Regions from separate parts of the Homo sapiens genome. Here region 1 is linked to region 2. Evidence: promoter capture Hi-C in human tissues and cell types (Jung and others, 2019). All regions are on one chromosome and are shown on one strand. The core of a region is centred on a gene start or on the middle of the fragment in contact, and the rest is flanking DNA. Distances in the headings are between cores, read along the strand shown.

Evidence for each region. Contacts are between HindIII fragments. The study calls those that stand out against the background at their distance.
Region 1: a contact is called between a fragment that was not itself captured here and the fragment with the promoter of SNAI1 in region 2, in 1 of the 25 tissues and cell types used here (neural progenitor cells).

What each region holds. Positions count from the first base shown.
Region 1 is chr20:49,844,961-49,850,867 of GRCh38, reverse strand. SLC9A8 (solute carrier family 9 member A8) reads right to left here. Exons shown (of 16, transcript NM_015266.3): 5 at 5,749-5,832; 6 at 1,188-1,289; 7 at 24-58. Among named protein-coding and RNA genes, the nearest start is that of MIR12122, 16 kb to the left of the region's middle. The HindIII fragment of the contact is 4,181 bases long and covers 780-4,960 here.
Region 2 is chr20:49,978,834-49,984,880 of GRCh38, reverse strand. It overlaps SNAI1 (snail family transcriptional repressor 1), which reads right to left and starts at 1,901. Exons shown (of 3, transcript NM_005985.4): 1 at 1,740-1,901; 2 at 530-1,057. The coding sequence starts at 1,821. RefSeq lists silencers at 1,887-2,406, 5,468-5,567, 5,668-5,727 and an enhancer at 2,559-3,496. The HindIII fragment of the contact is 23,979 bases long and covers 1-6,047 here.

The sequences.
Region 1 (5,907 bases), core at 1,621-4,120, 130 kb after region 2:
GTGTTACAGTATGAAGGATTTACCTGTCTGTCATGTTGAGTTTAGAGATTACATCAGCCTGTAAAATAAAACACACAAACACACAGACACACACAAAAAAAAAACCCTGGAGAACAGCCAAGATTTAAATGTCCATTAGTGCTTTATTAAAACTAATAAGGACATTAATCTTCAGTTCCCAAACCACTTGAAAAATAAAAGCTCCTAAGCCTTAGTTGAAACATGCATTCCATCGGCATGCAACGAGAGTATGGAAAAGAATGCTACATTCTTCAAGCCCAATTAACTGTAGTTTCCTTAAGTTTATTCTTACTTAATACTAGAAGCTGAGCAATGAAGAAAGCTGCATGACAGACAGATTTATTCTGGTGCCATCAAAGCTGCAATATAGGTGAAAATCCAATGGAATGGGCTTTGGCTATTGAGAGAAGAAAGCAGCTGATGTGTTAAAGAAATCTGCCCGTCACTCAGATACCTGACCCTCAACTTAATTTTCAGAACTGAGACAGGCAAACTTTCTGCAACTGACAATAAAGGAAAAGAATGTGACATGCATGGACATGCATAATACAAAACTACAGATACTACCTTCCTAGGGATGTTTGGTCTAAATTAATTTGAAGTCTAAAGTAGAGACCACCCAACTGGTGCCACTGGGAAGTGGTTTAGCAATTGTGGAAAATCCAGAGTATATAATTCTACAGGTAGACAGCTTAGAATTGAGTGAAGAGATTCAGCATCACCTTTGATTTTATTATTTCTCCAATGCCAGCAGAAAAGCACATCTTTGATTTTTTAAATACAAATTTTTATCAAAAAACAGCATTCAACCCCAATTCAGTCTACTTGACAACACAGTTTGAAGTTCTTGATGGCATATATTTGGCTTCATTTTTAGGTATTCTAATTTAAGACAGTATTGGTTTGCAAATAAACTCAAATACTTTGGGGGGGATTATGGAAAAGTTTTACTCAATTCCAGATACCAAAGGTCTTGGAGGACACTTTGAAACAATTTAGCACGCCTCTACTGTGCCTCATATGAAGCTAGGATTTCCTTCCAGAAGGAATTTACCTTAAGGGTGAAACCCAGGCCCCACAAAGTGGCCCCATTTCACCTTCCCACCTCCCTGCACTAGCTCTAAGAATGTAAGACTTTCAAAGTGTTTCAAAGATGATTTTCTTACCTGACCCAGAAAATAAATTCCTCCACCTACTACAAAAGCGGAGATTGCCGTCCCAAAAACAGCAAACAGGGTGATGGAACCAATATTTTGAAAGAAGTTACCCTGTTTGAAAGAGCAGAAATCAGGGAAATGATTAGAAAAGCCATTCCTGTCAGTGAAGGCACGGCCTGCACACCTGGCCCTCCGTGCAGACTTGATTCTCTGTAAAAGGCACCACTGCCCAACCTGTGTGGCAAGCTGGGAGCCCGGGAGTCTTCCTGCACCCCCGCACTTACTGCAGTGTCCCGTCACTCACACCATCTTTCATCTGAAACACTGCATAGCTTCGCACAAGTCTCCTCAACCCCCCAGGGCCCCTTTCCCTCCACTCTCCCGTCTTTCCAGAATGATCTTCCCAAAAGACAAATCTGATTGTGCTGCCTTCACCTGGACCCCTATTTCCACTTAAAATGCAGCTAGCCCCCACCCTGAATGATTCGACTCCTGGGGAGGCCTCTGGGCTCATCTGGCACCATGCTCGCCTTTGTTCTCTGGGTTCCAGTCCCACTGGTGGCTTCGAGCAGGTTGTGCTCCCTCTTTGCTTGTTAAGCTTTCATCATCCCAAGATCTCAGGACATTTCAACTCTTCCCAGATCCTAGTCTGTGCTCTCAGTGCACAGTCACCCTCTCTTGTAGCGGTTGACAAGACTGCAATTTTGCACTTATTTATGTACTGATGTCTTACTTTCCCATGAGGCTGCAGGCTCATTCTGGGCAATGACCCCACCTGCTTTCGCACAACACGGTCCCTGACATAATGCCCGTCAGATGGAAGATGCCCAACAGACAGGCACTGAAGGAATTAACTGTGTTTCACATCCAAAGTCCACACTATTAGGATACCAAGATACACTATCAGATATTCCTTTTTCCTGGCCAGGTCTTTTAAACAATTTTACTTCACTCTATTAGTATCATCATTAACTATGTCAGATAAAATGTTTCTATCTATACTTCACAGCGTTTAAGATAAAATATTCAAGTTCAAGCAGCATGGTAGCATCTTTCAAATTTCCATAAAATTAAGGAAATTAAGCTATTTATTATAACCCTATGAACTCCACTTAGGAGCTACCAAGAGTCTTTGATCACCCCCGATTGTGGTTGTGAACAAGAATCTTGTTTTTAGCTCAGAAATCACCAAACCATGGACATCAAGACCTGCTATTTTAAAGCCCACTTGTGAAAGAGTGTCCTCAGCTGAACACTGACTGCCCCACTAAGCCCACCTCCTAGAAGCTGCAATTTTGACTTGGCTGCCTATCATCTGACATTCAATTCCTTTGTTTGGCATATCAATCTTTACTGCACAAAGAATTTTAAAACACAATGATTTGGTTTTTCAAAACAAAGGGCTTTCAATCTATGAGTTGCTCTTTGCAAATCGCTGTTTTCTTTTGTTATTTAAAAACAGATTAGACTGGGCTCGGTGGCTCAAACCTGTAATCCCAGCACTTTGGGAGGCCAAGGCGGGTGGATCATCTAAGGTCAGGAGTTCGAGACCAACCTGACCAACATGGAGAAACCCCATCTCTGCTAAAAATACAAAATTAGCTGGTGTGGTTATAGACGCCTGTAATCCCAGCTACTCGGGAGGCTGAGGCAGGAGAATCGCTTGAACCCAGGGGGCCGAGGTTGCAGTGAGCCGAGTTCGCAGTGAGCCGAGTTCGTGCCATTGCACTCCAGCCTGGGCAACAAGAGCAAAACTCCATCTCAAAAAAAAAAAAAAAAAAACAGATTAATCAGTTTTGACCTGTTTGCAGAGATCTAATGTTGATATAATTTATATATTTGGTTAATATTAATCTGGATCCTGAACATTTACCCAAGTTAAAGTTACCATAATACAAGAACTTCCCTCTGCTACATAAAGCAAATTTATCTGTTTCTCTCTGACATAATTAACATCCTGTGATTTGTGTAATATTTGCAATTCAAAGAACCAGTTGCTGCCTAGCTAATGCATATCAACTGATGATAATCTTACTGTAATCTGTATTCTAAATCCAAATTTACATTAGCAGATATCATAATATTAAAATAAAATATTCAAACTTTACTTCCTATCATCTTTGGGCGAGGGTAGAAAGTGGATAGAAGTTTCAGAAGTAGCATTTCATAATCCTATCAGTCCCTTTCATATAAATTGTCACATTTCCTGCTGGAAAGTCATCTTCAACAAAATGTTTCTCTAAAAAACTATTACTTTCCTCAAATTTTGAACAAGTTTCTCTCCCCTCTAAAAAAAAAAAAAAAAAAGAAAAGAAAAACTTTACATGCTCTAATATTCAAAATGTCATGTTTTTAAGTCAAAATCAAGTCAATTTCCTCAGCATGTTTTGAAATATTTTCATATCTGCTTACAGTTAAGATTTGTTTACAAAGTGAAAGGAAAGACATGGTGACCTTCAACTTATGTTTCCTTGTTAAAAATTATCTGATGTCACTAACAGTTTGTAAGACTTGTGAATATTTTTTACATTAAATTTCCTTTTCACTTTTTCTTTGGATAGATGCACAATAAAATAATAACTTAAAAAAAAATCTGGGCTGAACATCTTAATATGCTTTTGTTTTAGTACAGGAAAATTAAAGACTTAATTTCTATGTTTTTACCAAACATTTCTAGACAAATCTAACTCATTTTTTAAAATTATGTATTTATTTATTTTATACCATGTCAACAACAAATTAAGTTTATTTTTATTTATTTATTTTTGAGACAAAGTCTCCCTCTATCACTCAGGCTGGAGTGCAGTGGCGTGATCTCAGCTCACTGCAAGCTCCACCTCCCGAGTTCAAGCTATTCTCATGATTCTCATGCTTCAGCCTCCAGAGTAGCTGGGATTACAGGCACGCACCACCACGACCAGCTAATTTTTGTATGTTTAGTAGAGATGGGGTTTCACCATGTTGGCCAGACTGGTCTTGAACTCCTGGCCTCAAGTGATCCACCCACCTCGGCCTCTCAAAGTGCTGGGATTATAGGCATGAGCCACTGGGCCCGACCATATTAAGCTTAATAAATTATTATTACTACTGGTGGTAATATTGTTATTAATAATAAATGACATTTTTATCATTAATAACAAGCAGCAGCACTTCATTTATTTAGTGTGGTGGGTGGTGCTTTGCCTACGTTCTTTCATCTAGTGTGACTCTCAAAGCACCCTGGGAGGTAGGGTTTTGGGGTTTTTGGTTTCTACTTTACCAAAAAGAAACCTGTAGGGGGCAGCGCATGATTAGATCTGTGTTGTGTCTCTGGCTTTCCTCTCTCCAAGGACTGGCCTAAACTTTCCAATCTTCACAGTTTTTTTAAAAATCACATTCACAAAATAGCTGCTGTATTATTAATACTAGTATTTTAAGTTGAATCACTTTATTTTAAAACTTAAATACATTTATGTTTAAAGAAAACTCACAGACAAGGAAAAAACCATGCACGCACACAAGCAGGCTTAAAAGTGAGAAGCTCCTGCTCAGGCAGAAAGACTCACACTAGGGGACGAGTGTGGTGGCTCATGCCTGTAACCCCAGCACTTTGGGAAGCCAAGGTGGGTGGATCACTTGAGGTCAGGAGTTCGAGACCAGCCTGGCCAACATGGTAAAACCCCGTCCGTCTCTACTAAAACGACAAAAATTAGCCGGGCAAGGTGGCGTGTGCCTGTAATCCCAGCTACTCAGGAGGCTGAGGCAGAAGAATCACTTGAACCCACAAGGTGGAGGTTGCAGTGAGCCGAGATCATGCCACAGGACTCCAGCCTGGGTGACAGAGTGAGACTCCATCTCAAAAAAAACAAAACAAAAAAAAAAACATCTCACACTGGGAGTTGCAAGGCAATGGCCGTCAAGGCCAAGCCAAAGCAGAGAAGTGGGTAGGGGCCAGTGCCACTGCTCACCAAGGCAGGGAGGAAAGAATGGGCAGGCAACTGTGGGACTAGGCAGGGAAGGATGGGGCTCCAGCCTGGGAAGGAGAAGCTGGACCAGGGAGTGGGCGAGGAGCGATAGAGGTTGAGGGATGAAGGGGAATATCAAGCTGGGGTCTGAGGCCAGGGGAGGGCACCGAGAGGGAGACATGGAAGGATGGATGGGCCTGAGAAGGTTAGAAAGGCCCCAGTGGGGGAGCTGAAAGAAACAAAAGTCCTGGGGCACATGTCCCCGTCGTCCCAGGACACAGTCTATCCTCTTTACATCTATCAGTCTGTGTCCAGGAAGACGAGTCAATGCATCATCTGTGAGCCACTTAACATCACTTCAGCCATCTTCCTGGGCAAAGCACCCATTTATGGCAAACACTGGCTCAGTGAGCCATACTGCCTGAAACCATTAAAGCAGCCAATTCATCATGTCTGCTCCTCTCCAGAAGTCAGGCACTGCAGTCCAGCTTCCACTGAGCACAACCAGGAAGGAGCAGAGCTGCTGCTGCTGCTGCTGCTAAATTATACCCAAGCTTTTAAGGAACTTGCCTTACAAACATGAGAAACTGTCCAGACCAAAGCACCAATGTGTGCCTGAGTCTCACCTTGTGTAATGAATATCCAGACTCAAAGATAATAGGGGGAAGCAGGAGGAGGAAAAACATGTTTGGACGAAACATTTCTTCTTCCTGTAAATAGAAAATGAGTATCTTAAGGGCATGGAATTTGTGTAATTAAGAAATAAATTAATCAATAAAGAGCCA
Region 2 (6,047 bases), core at 652-3,151:
TTGCCAGGTGCTTCCCATATGCATTCCTGCATTTAGCCTGTATAGAAACCCCAAAAGCTGTTCTCATGCCCATCTGAAAGATAGAGAAAATGAGGCTCACAGAAGAGAAACATCAGCCTAAGTTTTGAGAAAGTTCTCAAAGAAGGATTCAGAGCCAGGCGGGGGGTCTGACAACATCCTGTCTGGCTAGGGAGGGGGCGGACCCGGGAGAGGGTGTGGCCGGGTGGGCCCCTTCACACCTGGCCCCCACAGCAAGGTGTTGGTTGCACCTTTCCCATATCCAGCTCCGACCCATTTGGCTGAGAAACAGGCTGCAGGGGATTGGGAAGGTGTCTGCTTTGCCCATCTGCTTAGCTGATGAAGAAAGTTTCTGCCAAACGTTTCCAGAGAGCCAGGCCCTGGAACTTGAGCTAGAAGTTAGAAGACTCGGGGCCTCAGTGTCCACAGCTTTGGGAATGAGAACAGCAAGCCCAGATTCACAAAAGCTGCCAGAGAGAGCAACGGTGGGGGCGCCTGGAGGGGCACGTACCAGTGTGGGTCCGGACATGGCCTTGTAGCAGCCAGGGCCTAGAGAAGGCCTTCCCGCAGGTTCCGCAGACGCAGGGCAGCGTGTGGCTTCGGATGTGCATCTTGAGGGCACCCAGGCTGAGGTATTCCTTGTTGCAGTATTTGCAGTTGAAGGCCTTTCGAGCCTGGAGATCCTTGGCCTCAGAGAGCTGGGCCAGCTGCTTGGGCACTTGGCCCAAGCCTGGGAAGGCAGCATAGGCCTCGGCCTCCAAGGAAGAGACTGAAGTAGAGGAGAAGGACGAAGGAGCCGGTGAGGGTGGGCTGGGGGGCTGGGAGCCTTTCCCACTGTCCTCATCTGACAGGGAGGTCAGCTCTGCCACCCTGGGACTCTCCTGGAGCCGAAGGGAGGCCCAGGCAATTGGCTGGGCTTGGGGCGCCAGGACAGAGTCCCAGATGAGCATTGGCAGCGAGGCGGTGGGGTTGAGGATCTCCGGAGGTGGGATGGCTGCCAGCAGGTGGGCCTGGTCGTAGGGCTGCTGGAAGGTAAACTCTGAGGGAGAAAAAGCAGAGTCAGGCGTTAATTAAATCATTCACTCAATCAACAAACATGAGCCCACCGCTGGCCAGGGGCTGGGTGGGGCCGATTCTCAATACATAATTAGATCAAAAAAATTATCCACAGGACAGACCAGGTTCCTGCCCTCCTCGCCCAGGTCACCCAATCTGAGTCTCTCACACGTAGGACCCCCAGTTGAAGGAGGTCATTTCCTGATCTCCCTCTCCTAAGTCCCCAGTCTCCAGCCTGAGGCCAGAACCCCATCATCCCAGCCCCGGAGCCACCACCCTGCCCCAATCCCCCTCCTCACACACATCTCGTCTCCCCACCCCTCCCCTCAACCCTCTGGACTCCGGACTCTCCCCAGCAGCGTCCAGAGGGCCCTCCTGACACAGGCCTCCTCTCCTTCCCCTCTTGCGGAGCTCCTCCGCCTCTCGCCGGCTACAAAGGCCCCCCAAGCTGAAGACCCCTGCCCTCTACACGGCACTCCCCCAACCACCCAGACAGATCCCCGGAACTGGGGACCCACTTGCCCGGTCTCCCGAGCCCGCAATGGTCCACAAAACATCCTGTGACTCGATCCTGGCTCAGGCAGGCCGCCTCCCTCAGGTGCCCCCCACGCAGCCTTCGCCTGTCTCCCCCAAACCTCCTGGAGCCCAGAACCCCTCCAACGCACCTGGATTAGAGTCCTGCAGCTCGCTGTAGTTAGGCTTCCGATTGGGGTCGGAGGGCTTCCTGACGAGGAAAGAGCGCGGCATAGTGGTCGAGGCACTGGGGTCGCCGATTCGCGCAGCAGTAGCGCAGAAGAACCACTCGCTAGGCCGTGCCGCGGCGCAATGAATGCAGCAGCGCCGCCAACTCCCTTAAGTACTCCGGGGGGGTGGTGGGGGGTGGGAGGGGCGGGGCCTTATCTGCCACGCCCCTTTGTCACCTCCGCGCCAATCGGAGGCTCGTCTCCGCCGAAGGCCACTCCCCGAGCAGGTGCGCCGGCTGCTGGCCGGGCTCGCGCCGCGTGGCGGTGAGAGCCCGGGCGGGGACTCCTCCGAGGCGGGGTTCGCTGGCGCAGCGCGGGTCGTCCCCGGTGCTGGGGCTGTCCGGGGCGGGACGTCGAGCGAAGCGAGGCCTCTGCGAGGTGGGACCCCGGCAGGACGCCGCGCGCCCACCGGCTCAGCGCCCGGTGGTCTGAGCGCTTCTGACGCCCCCTGGCGCTGCGCGCCGGCCGGGACACCTGACCTTCCGACGCCCGCCCCCGCCTCGGGCTTGGGAGGGGGCGGAAATTTCCTCCGCCCGGCTGGCGCCTGGAGAGCGTGGCATTGACGAGGGAAACGCACATCACTGGGGAGGAAGCGAGGAAAGGGACACCGCACGTGGCTCTCGGCGGCTTGAAATGCCACGGCCTTTTTGCAAAGCAGCCTGGCCCAGCTAGCCAAGAGCACCCGTTCCTTCCCTTATCCAGTGTTTACGGAGCGCCCAGCACGTGTGGGGCACTGTACCTGGGGCCAGGGCACAGCCCCGGACAGAACACTCAGAGCCTCTCCCGAAGGGTAGCTTCTGGTCCAGTGAGGGAGACAGACGAAGTAAACAGATAATTACAATGCAAAGGGAAGTGTGCTTTGGTGGGGGAGAGACGGGACGCGGCGACCGTTAAGAGGCGGGTCACCTGACAGGGGGTCGGGGTGACTTCCCAGAGGAAGTGAAGAATTATCAAGGGAAAAGGCCCGAGGGAAGAAGTGGCAACTGCTTCAGAGTAACTCCTAGAGAGCAGCTTCCAGGGATGGGGTGGGATGGGCATGCCCGGAGGGGTCAGATGTGCTGGGCCCCAGGGCCTCGTAGGAGTTTGGACTTTGCCTCAAGGGCACTGGGGAGCCACCGAAGGATTTTCAGCTGAGGAGGGACCTGGTTAGAGTTTCGTTGAAAAAGATCCCTGTAGGCTGGCGGGAGAAAGAAGGCATGGGCCGGGCGTGTCTCCTCACCCCGTGAAGATCCTCGATCCTGTGTCTAAAGGCTGTAACACGGCTCCATAGGGGCCCTGACTGAATGCATGTGGGGTGGGCCCAAGTGAGGGGCAGCTGCACCCCCACCCCAGCTTCCCTGGGAGGCGTACCAGGCCCGGGGGTGGCTCTGAAATAAACCTCACAGGTCTCACCGTTCTTGTTTCCACCTGTGAAGGAAGACTATAAAAACCTATAAGCACCCCACACCACCACCACCACCAACCTGAAGGGCAGAACTACTGTCTGTTTAGTCACTTGGTGCCGGGTGTGACAGCCGTGAACAAAATCGTCCTCCCCTGGTTCTAGCTGGAGAGCGGGCAGTAGGGTGGGGGACAGAGGCAGTAAGCAGTCATTAAGCGGAATACTCCCCGTCCCGTGTCAATTTAGCTCCAATCAGGATCCTTTGCTTGAAGCCAAAGTGAGGCCAGATCACCCCCTCCTCTGCTCAAACCCTCCCATGCGCCTGTCTCAGAGTAAAAGCCAAAGTCCTCTCCTCAGCCAACTCGGCCCCGCTGCTCTGACCCCAGCTGACATTGGCTTGAGCCTCTCTCCCTCCCCCATGCACAAGGATCCCACCCCCAGCCTTCCTTCTGTTCCTCCAACATCCCAGACCTTTCCCACCTTGGCACCTGCTGCTCTTCCTCCTCTCCCCTACGTCTCTTGCTCCTAGATCTTCACGCTGGCTTCCTTTCATTCTTTGTTTCAGCAGCAACTTCACTAACTGCTCAGCCTCGTTTAGTGAAGAGAGAAATGGCAAATTCAAGCCACAGTGAGCTGCCATTTCACGCCCATCAGAAGGACAACAAGGAAAAATTTGGTCACTATCAAGAGTTGATGAGGAGGTGAGAGCTGGCGAGAGGGTCGGTGGGCATAGTCACTTTGGAAAAGTTTGGCATCAGCTAGCAACAGGTGACTCCTCTCCCTGTCTGTCCTCAAGCCAACTGCATCCCAGGGGCTGCAGCTGACAAGTCTGTCCTCAAACCAACTGCATCCCAGGGGTTCTCAGCTCTGGCAGCACATTAGATCCCCACAGGGAAGGATTAAAACACCTAAGCCTCGGCCCACCCCACCCCCACCCACATCTTGATTTAATTAGTCTGGGTGGGGCCTCTGGCATCAGCATTTTAAAAAACTCCCCTGGGGATTATAATGAGCAACCAAGCAAAGTAAAGAACTGTTGTCCAGCCCAAACCCCGAAAAAACAAAAAAGGATATTCATTGTACCCTCGTTCCTAATAGCAAAAAAAGCAAAAACTAAAACAAAACTGGATACAACACAAATGTTTATAAACAGTAGACTGGATTAATGAACCCTGGTGCAATCCTGTAATAGAATACTATACAGCAATAAAAATGAACTACAACTCCATGCAGCAACAGGGATGAATCTCAAAAACACAATGTCGAGCAGAGGTCACAAACAAATGCATAGTTATTTGGATTTATACGAGGTTCTGAAGCAGGCAAATGAAACCCTATATTATTTAGGGATGTATGTGGGGGTTGTAGAATTAGAAAGAAAAGCAAGGAAGTGGTTTTTTGTTTTGTTTTTGAGACGGGGTCTTGCTCTGTCACCCAGGCTGGAGTGCAGTGGCACAATCACGGCTCACTGCCGCCTGGAACTCCTGAGCTCAGCCTGCCAAAGTGCTGGGATTACAGGGGTGAGCCACTATGCCGGCTGCAAGGAGATGTTTGATACAAAATTCTGAAGAGTGGCTGGTGAGGAGGGGAGGCAAGAACAGGCTGCACATGAAGCTTCTAGAATTTTGGTAATGATCTGTTTCCTAGGCAGGGAGGGATCTTTATTGTTAGTCTTTCTACTGTACATGGACTATTTATTTTACCGTATCTTCATGACATGGTAGTGTACAGAGACAATTTAAACACTTTTAGGTATGAATAATATATTTAACACAAAAAATGTAAGTCACTTCCTCAGGGGAGCCTTCCCTGATCACCCTAGCCAAAGTAGGACCCACCCTTGCCCCAGCACCCACCTTCTTTTTTCTTTTTTTCCCCCTTTTTTCACTGAGACGCGCTACCATGCCTGGCTAATTTATTTTTTGTAGAAATGGGGTCCCACTATGTTGCCCAGGCTGGTCTCAAACTCTGCGGCTCAATTGATCCTCCCACTTTAGCCTCCCAACTTGGTGGGATTACAGGAGTGAGCCACCGCGCCCAGCCCACCTTTCTCTCTCATTGTCTTATTCTGTTTTCTTCAAAGCACATAATGGGGGCTCAATCAAGTACTTGCAGGCAGCCACTGCCTGGGCCTCCCGCTTTCCACTTTCCTTCAGTGGTCAGGCACCTGCGCGGGGCATGGGGGTGGGAGGCAACGCAGAGGGGAGGGGCCTTGCTCAGATCGGATCGAATTGTCCCCGCCACCCCCTCCAGGCCCGCCCTCGCTCCACTCCCTCCTGCAGGCGGCGGAGACCACGAGGTGAGAGGAGGCTTCGGGCCAGGCCTCTCGGCCGCAGACCCAGCTCCCTTTGCAGGGGAAGGTGAGGTGACACTTTTGATACTGTGGGGTCAGGTCCTCCCGGAAATGGGCGACATCTGCGGCCCAGGTGGCCTGGGACCCGGCAGGGCCAGGCCCTCCCCAGCTCCCCGCACGAGGGGGTCCCGCCCCAGGCCTGGGGCGCGGTCCTCTGGCGCCCTCTGCTGGCCAAGGCGCCTCCCTGCAATCGTCGCGGGGTGCAGGGGGCACGTGCTTTTCAGGGAGGTGAAGGCTGGTATAACTGCCGGGAGGGCAATCTGGGAATACCTAGTGTGCTCACGAAAGGCTTCTGGAAGGAAGGTACATTTGAATAGACACCTGCATTTTCTGCAGGTGCCAATCTCCCACTAGAAGTAAAACCAGTAGCTAAATAATGTGATTTACAGTTACCCAACTAAAAGAAGAGTCTCCCTCCATTCCAGACCTCCTTTTCCCTCCCCAAAGCAACCTTTTTTTTTTTTTAAACCAGTGTCTTGTATGACCTTCCAGGGAT